Linked DNA regions of Homo sapiens: region 1 is linked to region 2. The links are contacts of gene promoters, found by promoter capture Hi-C in blood cells and fetal thymus (Javierre and others, 2016). All regions are on one chromosome and are shown on one strand. Each heading gives the region's core, a stretch centred on a gene start or on the middle of the fragment in contact. The rest is flanking DNA. Distances are from core to core; before and after follow the strand shown. Region 1 overlaps TIAL1 (TIA1 cytotoxic granule associated RNA binding protein like 1). Region 2 holds the start of GRK5-AS1 (GRK5 antisense RNA 1).

Region 1 (4,963 bases), core at 548-3,047, 230 kb before region 2:
GCTGTTCAGTATTTTAACTCACTGTGTTTTTAAAAGAGCAAAAAAGGGAGGATCGTGAAAACCTGGGAATCACATATAAGTTCATCCTGAATCCTGATACTCCCCTCCCCTTCCCTGAGGTGGACCACATTTGAAGTCAGCAGAGAAAAAGTGTGATATTCAGAAGAAATGCGTGATTTTGGAGTCGCTTTGGAGGAAATATTTTCTTTCTCTATGCCTAAAGAAACTGAAGCCAGACTGAAGTTTTGCACCCTAAAAAAGGAACAGCATTGTTTGAGTTACTTGAGCAAATGTTGGTGGTCCACGTTAAGACATATTTTTAAAACTTCCAAAAGTGTCGATTATTAAAATTGTAGTATTTTACATTTCATTTTGGGGGGAAATCCAAGTATGGTGTTTGTATTGAAGTCAGACAGTCATACTTGTGCTTTTACATGAAGTTTAAATGATACATATTGTAAATATTCAATAACTACAGTGTTTAAAAAGCATGCTTCAACATAGAAGTAGCAGCAATGTAATTATTTGAAGTAACACTTAACACACTCCGCTGCATTGAATGCAGTGGATTGATCAGAATGTTAAGACTGACATTTCCAAGGTTGGCTACTATGTAAAATTAAAATTACACAAATTGTGCAGAAAAAGCCTTAATTTTAATTTCATACAATCTTTGATGCATTAGTATGTTCTAAAATGTCATTGGGAATTAGTTTTTTGTTTTTGTTTTTTTTTTTTTTTTTTTTTGCTTTACATTACTTGGTATGTAAATACCTTGATTAAAACCTTGTAAACCAATTTCAAGGTTACTATAAGTTGTATAGTACAAGTGTTTTTTAAAAATCTTGGGGTGTTTTTAAAAATTAAGATATATTTTGCCCAAGAATTTTTTTAACAAGATTGCTAAAAACATCTTATTTAGACACTTCAATGTACCAATTTATAATTGGATATTCAGTTTAAATAGTACACAGAGTTGTGGCTTTTATTTTCAATTAATTTTTTTCCTTGTGGGCAGTGTGCATGGTATAATAAGCCTGAGCAGAGGCTTAAGTTGTATGTGTGCAGAGTTTGTAAAGGAATCAATTGGAAGATGCAGAAGACCGAGGTTTGCTTTCAAGGTATTTTTCAGGCTGTGTGGGTAAAATTTGCCTCAAATTTCTATCAAACAGGAATGTAAAATAGATAAAATCCTATGTATTTGAATTGTCAGAGCTAGGGAGTGCAAATGTTTTGGCAATGTATTCAAAATGCTGGCCTGGGCACCAAAGAGAAAATAGCCTTTTACAGTTACATAGTAAGATGCGATTAGTACCCACAAATTACTGTTTTCTAAACATTTGAAGTTTTACGATTAGCTTTAAAATAATGATTTTATAAATTGGTGGTCACAATAATTTTGGTATTACTTTCCTCCTTTTCCCACTTAGCAATATAGCCAAATGTATTCAACATAAAAATTCATAGGGTCTGAAATTCATAGCTGGGCCAAATTTTTTATGGCACCTTAGTTTTACCATAATGGTCATCTATTACACTCTTCTGTTATAAAATATACCCTTATTTCTTTTGTTTATAGTATCTTTGAGGAATGTTTTTGGAAAAGTTAATTTATATTTTATAGGGAGAACACTCAATAAATTATGTTAACTGTGCCCCCGAGTTAAAAATTTTATGAGTATATGTGAAACTTGAACAACTGAAGACTTTTTTTAATTGATAAAAATGCTTAGTATGCCTGTTTTGGTCTGCCAGTAAATTAAGTAGCTTATTGAGATAACTAACAGCTAAATATAGCTGTAGTGTTTCCTGACTGTATATTCTATGATTTAATAAAATTATCCAGACTAGTTATATTGCCACAGTAAACATGTGACTGAAGTGTCCTTCATCTTAATCTGAAAGAGGGCAAAATTTCATGATCAGTTAATGGAAGTTATTTCATATTAAGTGGTTTTTTTTTTTTTTTTTTTTTAGATGGAGTCTTGCTCTGTCGCCAGGCTGGAGTACATGTAGTGATGAGAACTTGGCTCACCGCAACCTCTGCTTCCCAGATTCAAGCGATTCTCCTGCCTCAGCCTCCTGAGTAGCTGGGATTACAGTCACGTGCCACCATGCCCAGCTAATTTTTTTGTGTTTTTAGTAGAGATGGGGGTTTCACCATGTTGGCCAGGATGGTCTCGATCTCCTCACCTCGTGATCCGCCCGCCTCAGTCTCCCAAAGTGCTGGGACTACAAGCGTGAGCCACGGTGTCTGGCTTTTTTTTTTTTTTTTTTTTGAGACGGAGTCTTGCCCTGTCGCCAGGCTGGAGTGCAGTGGTGCAATCTCGGCTCACCGCAACCTCCGCCTCCTGGGTTCAAGCTATTCTCCTGCCTCAGCCTCCCGAGTAGCTGGACTACAGATGCATGCCACCATGTCTAGTAAATTTTTGTATTTTTAGTAGAGACAGGGTTTCACCATGTTGGCCAGGATGGTCTCAATCTCCTGACCTCGTGATCCACCCACCTCGGCCTCCCAAGGTGCTGGGATTACAGGCGTGAGCCACTGCACCTGGCCATTAAGTGGTTTTTAAAATACAAAGCTACTTATCCAAATGAAATGTACCATTTAAAAACTACAACTGGGCCGGGCGCAGTGGCTCAGCCTGACCAACATGATGAAACCCTGTCTCCACTAAAAATACAAAATTAAGCGTGGTGGCCCGTGCCTGTAGTCTCAACTACTCAGGAGGCTGAGGCAGGAGAATCTCTTGAACCCAGGAGGCGGAGGTTGCCCTGAGCCAAGATTGTGCTATTGCACTCCACCCTGGGAAATAGAGCAAGACTCCGTCTCAAAAAAAAAAAAAGTGCAACTGTTGCCGGGCATGGTGGTTCACACCTGTAATCCCAGCACTTTGGGAAGCTGAGGCGGGTAGTGGATCACCTAAGGTCAGGAGTTTGAGACCAGCCCAGCCAACATGGTGAAACCCCATCTCTACTAAAAATAACAAAAAAATTAGCTGGGCGTGCTGGTGGGCGCTGGTAGTCCCAGTGACTTGGGAGGCTGAGGCAGGAGAATTGAACCTGGGAGGTGGAGGTTGCAGTGAGCTGAAAATGCGCCACTGCACTCCAGCCTGGGCGACAGAGCGAGACTCCATCTCAAAAAATAAATGAATTAATTAAAAGTATGGCTGTTGAGCTAACAGATGATTTTATAACATGACCCAATGCTATCTTGATCCAACTTAAGCCTAAGAATCGTTGCTCCCCACCCCGTTCATCAAAAACATCAGCAGAGACTTTTTGGGCATGCAAGGAAATGTTTTTTATTTCATAATTATTTTGAGATTTATTTTGGTGATGTGTTTCTGACTGACTGCCATATTCTTTGTTCTCATAATTTCTCTACTAGTATTTTCACTCCCAACCCCCGTGCCATTCCCACTTGATTTTTATGTCTGCTGGCAGTGAGAGGCTAAAATGGCCAACTTAAGCCAAAGCTGTAAACAACAGTTGAAGTAAGTCTTTCAATAAAGACTAGACTATATGATAAGTGGCTTTTTCTTATTGTCGTTTATTACATAATTATTCTACCAGGTTGCCATGAAATAAGCAACTGGGTTTTAAGTTTTCAGTAGTTATGTGGAGTATGTATGTAGTCAGGACCTATTTCCATGTTCTGTGTAAGTGTTAACAAGTCCATTAGCTTTGCTGAATTTAATCTCTGGATATGAAGGAGTAGAAATTTGCATCCTTCTAAAAATGCATGCTCTGTTTAATATTAATATATTAAAATTTATTAATTTGGAGTCCTCAGATACGGGAACTAATTTTACTGTCTAGGTTGCTCTTTGGTAGTATCTATGAGTAAAGATGATACTTGACAAAAATAATTTAATAAATGTTTTAGATACTTTACTAGTATGTCCAAATTAAATTTTCCCTATTAAAAGCATTTGAGCTTCTACTTAATACATTATAAACATTGACTTTGCAATTTTATTACGTATTGGAAAGATGCAAAACCTATTTCCTTTAGACTTTTACTAGTTTTTGTAAGCCTTCACTCTTAAGTGGTCCAAATGAGGGTTTTGCTTAAATGTGTATTCTACTATGTTTAGTAATTAAATATTCTCGTAATTGGCCAGGCACAGTGGCTCACACCTGTAATCCCAGCACTTTGGGAGGCTGGGGTGGGCAGATCACTTGAGGCCGGGAGTTCGATACCAGCCTGGCCAACATGGCAAAACCCCATCTCTACTAAAAATACACAAATTAGCCAGATGTGGTGGCGTGTGTCTGTGATCCCAGTTACTCAGGAGGCTAAGGCAGGAGAATCACTTGAAGCTGGGAGGTGGAGTTTGCAGTGTGCTGAGATTGTGTCACTACAATCCAGCCTGGGCAGCAGAGCAAGACTCTGTCTGAAAAATTAAAATATTCTAGTAATTATGTTTAAATAGGTTGCTGTAAATTAGATTGCCATCAATTCCATTTTCAAACAAGGAAATTATGTGAATATAACTTAAACTTTTTTTTTTTTTTTTGAGACAGAGTTTCGCTCTTGTTCCCCAGGCTGGAGTGCAATGGCACAATCTCAGCTCACTGCAACCTCCGCCTCCCGGGTTCAAGCGATTCTTCTGTCTCAGCCTCCTGAGTAGCTGGGATTACAGGCACCCGCCACTACGCCTGGCTAATTTTTGGTATTTTTAGTAGAAACGGGGTTTCACCATCTTGGCCAGGCTGGTCTTAAACTCCTGACCTCAGGTGATCCACCCGCCTCGGCCTCCCATAGTGCGGGGATTACAGGCGTGAGCCACCTTGCCCAGCCAACTTAAACATTTTATTGTTCCAGCTGGGCATGGTGTGACTCACGCCCGTGACCCCAGCACTTTGGGAGGTTGAGATGGGAGAATCACTTGAGCCCAAGAGTTTGAAGCTACAGTGAGCCATGATTGTGCCACTCCAGCCTGGCTGACAGAGTGTG
Region 2 (5,116 bases), core at 817-3,316:
GGGGTGAAGCTGAAGCAGTCAGCAAGGGCGGAGAGGCCGGGCCTGGTCAGCTTCAGCAAGACCTCTGGACTCTGTCCTGACAGCAGTGGAAAGCTACTGAAGCAGGTGGTGGCGAGAGCAGACTGACATTTCAGAAAGAGCCTCCTGGCTGCTGCATGGAGCTTGGTTGGAAGTAGGTGCGCCTGGAGGGAGCAAGGAGCTGACACAGGAGTTCAGGCAGGGACAAGGATCAAGTGGAAATGGTGGAGATGGGGCGAGAGGGGCAGACTAGGAGATACTGTGGAGGCCGAGGCATCGGGACCTGGAGAGGGACTGGACACTGCACTGGGCCAGGTGCCACACGGCAGGGCAGAGGGGAGGGGCAGCTCTGGGCAGCTAGAGGAAGCTGGTGATGTTCACCAGGATCAGAGACAGAACAGCTTTACGAGAAAGGGTCACAGTTCCCCCAAGAAGACAGGAAAACTACTCTGGCCATTTGTCCAACCAAAGGCTCACACACCCACATCAAAACTGGCCAGCAATTTGCACAGCACTTTGCAAAGCACTCTCTGCCAGAAACACCTTTGGCCACTCCATCTGCTAAGGTGAGGAATACTGAGTCCCCATTTTAAAGACGAGCAAATCAAGGTTAAGTGGCTTTCCCAAGGCCACAGGACCAAGTGGTAACACAAGAAACTGGGTCTTCTGCCTCCCAGTCCAAGGGGGATTCTACAACCCACAGGTTTCCATTTTAAATGATATCTGATGTCTGGGCAAGGAAGATGATAGTCGAGGCTGGTACAATTCTCTCCCTAGAAGCAGAACAAACTACAAAAGGGCAACAGACCAAAGTGTTAACAGTGTTTATCCTTATCTCATTGGCAGTTTTTATTTTCCCCTTTTAAAATTGTTTTGGAAATTGCAACCATTGACATATATTATTTTTGTAATGAGAAAAGGAATTAAAAGTAAGTTTTGGGGCTGGGCATGGTGGCTGACACCTGTAATCCCAGCCACTTTGGGAGGCTGAGGTGGGCAGATTACTTGAGGCCAAGAGTTCAAGACCAGCCTGGCCAATATGGCAAAGCCCTGTCTCTATTAAAAATACAAAATTTAGCTGGGCGTGGTGGCGCACACCTGTAATCCCAGCTACTTGGGAGGCTGAGGCATGAGAATCATTTGAACCCAGGAGGCGGGGGTTGCAGTGAGTGAGACTGCATCACTGCACTCCAGAATGGGTGACGGAGTGAGACTCTGTCTCAAAAAACAAAACAAAACAAAACAAACAAACAAACAAAAAAACCACACTTTAAAGATGGTTCAGCATCAATCGTCAAACAGGAAAGAAAAAAAACAAAGCAGTACTCAAAATGCTTCAGGATTTTACATCTTCCTTTCTACTGCTGGCTGGAAACGGCCACAGCTAGCAGCCAACAGTAGCTCATGCCCCTAGCTCTTTGGAGGGTAATTTTGTGTTGTTCTTTGGTTGTTGGTTTTGTTTTTGTTTAATAGAGACAGAGTTTCACTCCCATCGCCCAGGTTGGAGTGCAATGGTGTGATCACAGCTCACTGCAACCTCTGCCTCCCTGGCTCATGCAATTTCTCCTGCCTCAACCTCCCAAGTAGCTGGAACTACAGGCTCACACTGCCAAGCCTGACTAATTTTTTGTATTTTTAGTAGAGACTAGGTTTCGCCATGTTGCCCAGGCTGATCTTGAACTCTGAGCTCAAGCGATCCACATGCCTCTGCCTCCCAAAGTGCTGGGATTATAGGAGTGAGCCACCGAGCCTAGCTAGTTTTTGTTTTTGAATTTGGAAGTTTATATTGGCCCCAAATATCCTACAACCCATGGCTTTTCTTCCCTGCAACCCCCCACTCCTGCCTTTCGGGTACTAGCTCTGGGGTGTTCAGAACAAGGGGGTTTAATACACCCAGGCAGACGTGGAGGGGAGACAGGAGTTGCAGCTTTGCTGGGCCCTGCTGCCAAGGTACTGCTGAATGGCCTGAGCTCTGGCAAATAAATTCCGTAAACAGAGTCTAGGCAGAGACCATTAAAAGTGTTTTCCTAGCATCTCTTTATGGGGCAGAACGCTGTCACGCTCAGGCTGCTGCAGGGTGGCTGGGCTCTTGTGTTGGCTTGAGGTCCCCCGCACAAACGAGCTTGTTTTTCCCATTTTCAGTGAGGGGCCTTAAAATAGACAGAAAAATCCTTCTCACACCTGCTGACTGCAGTGAACCGAGGCAGGCAAGCCAGGCAGAGGCCGCTCGCCAAACATCATCCACTTTGTCCATCCCCATCACATTTCAGGTTAATGGTGTCTGTGGATGCAAGTGCAAAGCTGGAAATGAAAAGAACATTCCAGAGGAAGCAAACAGCACTGTACAGGCTGCTGTGTTCTGGCCTTCAAAAAGACAGTGGACTTTCTTACTTTGAGCCATAGATCAAAATGTCACAATGAAGTACAAAGATGTTCATTTGAACATTAATTGTAATGGCAAAAACTAGGTGGAAAAAACCCAAATAGTAGAATATATACATGTGATAGTTATGAGAACTTTACAAATCACATTTATTCTGGGTTCACATTTATTCATTTGAAAATAAGCAAGGGCTTATTTTCAAGATCGCTTAAAGGAAGAATTCACCAACAGGAAGTAAGCCATAGGTTGGGAGAGACCGGGGGCCTGGGTGGATGCTGGGTTGAGGGTACTAGGTGAGCTCCCAATGGCCCAGTATGTCATTTCACCTGCAGGAGGGCAGCCCATGAGATGGGAAGTTTTGCACTTTGCTCACTGATGTATCCACCATGCCTGACACTCACTAAATATGCATCAAATGGAAAAATGTACATCACATTTATGAAGATTTTAATGACAAGGGAAAACATTTTTGATACTATGTTAAGAAAAGAGGTAAGAAACAAAACCACATGTATATGTATGGGGAAAAAAGCTAGAAGAAATTACATGAAGGCGTTAACTATGGCTCTGTCTGAGATGTAAAATTAGCGGTGACTTTCTTTCCTTATAATTTTCTGTGTTTTTTAGCAAAATAATTTACCAATTACTATGACTTAACCAATAACAAACAGGGAGATTGAAAAAGCTGCAACATGGCCTGGAAAACAATTGCTCCTCCCACAGACATTCCTGTGGTCCACTGGGGAAGTGAGCAGCCTGGGACTGCAGTGGTTAACTCCCCACCAGGCTCAGGAGAGAAGGAGTGTCCACCCTCAGACCCGGTGGGAATCAGGATCCCTGACCCCTCTACCTTTAACTCCACCAGACCACATGAGCACGTGAATATGTTATGGGTTCAACTGGATCCCCTAAAGAAGATACACTGAAGTCCTAATCCCCATTACCTCAGAACGTGACCTTATTTGGAAAGAGCGTTGCTACAGAGATAATCAAGTTAAAATGAGGTCATTAGGGTGGGCCCTAATCCAATATGAGTGGTGTCCTCATGAAAAAGGGGAAACTTGGCCAGGTGTGGTGGCTCACGCCTGTACTCCCAATACTATGGGAGGCCAAGGCAGGAGGATCTCCTGAGATCAGGAGTTCAAAACCAGCCTGGCAACCTGGTGAAACCCCGTCTCTACTAAAAATATAAAAAAAATTAGCCGGGCACAGTGGCGGGTGCCTGTAATCCCAGCTACTCGAGAGGCTGAGGCAGGAGAATTGCTTGAACCCGGGAGGTGGAGGTTGCAGTGAGCTGAGATCGTGCCATTGCACTCCAGCCTGGGCAACAAGAGCAAAACTCTGTCTCAAAAAAAAAGAGAAAAAAGTGGGGGGGAAACTTAGAGACAGACATTCACACAGGTAGAAGACCGAGTGAAGGTGAAGACAGGGATAGGGCTGATGAGTCTACAGCCACAGAACACCAAATAATGACAGCAAACCCACAGAAGCCACGGGAGAGGCCTGAAACAGCTTCTCCCTCCCAGCCTTCAGAACGAACCAAACCTGCTGACACCCTGATCTTGGACTTCCAGCCTCCAGAACTGTGAGACAATAAACTGCTGCTGCTTAAGCCACCTGGTCTCTGGTATTTCACTATGGCAACCTCAGGAAAAACTAACGCAGTAGGGGAGAGAGCCTGCCTTGGAGTCAAATCATGGGAAGACCCTGGCAAGACCTTGTTTCTCTGGGACTCAGTTCACTTATCTGGAAATGGGAGACCTGGCCTAGAACAGTGCGTTTCAAACTCAAATTTAGCCCTAGAATGAAATCTGACACGGAAGCCCAAATATAAAAGGTAAAATAAAGCCCAATTGGGTAAAAGCCTGGTCTAGATCACACACTCTCCCTGCAGAGCAGTCTTTGAAAACCACAACTCCAGGTGATCTGTAAAATCCCTGCCACCACTCCATTCTAAGACTGTCCAAACAAGAAACCCACGGACAGTATCGCTGGGCATCTTGCATGTGCCTGAGCTCGTGCCTTCTCTTTCAAGGAGCTTCCGGCCGTAGTGGGGAGGTGAGACTAACACCGCAAAGACAGCGGGGCCACCCTTCCCTCCTGAGAGCTCCAGCTGCGGACAGGTCACCTGATGTTCCAAACCCGACACATCTAAATTTATTTCGCCCTCCAAGGACAAGCAGATGCTGTGCCTTATCACAGCACGGCTAGGTGGCAGAACGACAGACATGACGCGCCCTTATCACCCCAAGGACAGCAATGACGTCTGCAGAGACTTGGTTTCCCTGACGATGAAATCAAGAGCTCACGTGCCAGCCAGGCAGGCCTGAAGGGGACTGGGTCACCAAGACGTGTGAGATTCTGATCATCCTCTCAGGGGCCCCAGACTCATCAGGGGGCACAAAGCTAACAAGGAAAGGGGGAAACAGTGTCACCATTCCCTCTGCCCCACTGTGGAATCAGGCAGGGTATTTGGTCTTTATTCATTTGATTTTTAATTAGACAAAGAACATGCCAATTCATTCTTTTTTTAAAAAAAAAACAATCTTACAGATAAAGCCAGTGTCCCCTCTGACCTTCACGCCTTCCCTGGGGGTAACCATTGTTAGGACTCGGGGCTGCAGGCTTCTAGATGACACACGTCCTTTCAAGGAAACACACTGGGCCAGAGCAGGGGCCTGGGCAGAGTGTGATGCTTCCAGCTTCCCTGGGCAA

What was found. The method cuts DNA at HindIII sites, captures the fragments that hold promoters and counts their contacts. A CHiCAGO score of 5 or more calls a contact.
Region 1: a fragment that was not itself captured here is called in contact with the fragment with the promoter of GRK5-AS1 in region 2 in 1 of 17 cell types (naive CD8 T cells); the score reaches 5.8 in naive CD8 T cells.

The regions. Positions count from the first base shown.
Region 1 is chr10:119,570,371-119,575,333 of GRCh38, reverse strand. TIAL1 (TIA1 cytotoxic granule associated RNA binding protein like 1) reads left to right here. Exons shown (of 12, transcript NM_003252.4): 12 at 1-1,869. Among named protein-coding and RNA genes, the nearest start is that of TIAL1, 24 kb to the left of the region's middle. The HindIII fragment of the contact is 6,967 bases long and covers 1-4,963 here.
Region 2 is chr10:119,336,270-119,341,385 of GRCh38, reverse strand. GRK5-AS1 (GRK5 antisense RNA 1) reads left to right here and starts at 2,066. Exons shown (of 2, transcript XR_946357.4): 1 at 2,066-5,116. All of the region lies in intron 2 of GRK5 (G protein-coupled receptor kinase 5), which reads right to left. RefSeq lists enhancers at 1-92, 93-686. The HindIII fragment of the contact is 14,954 bases long and covers 1-5,116 here.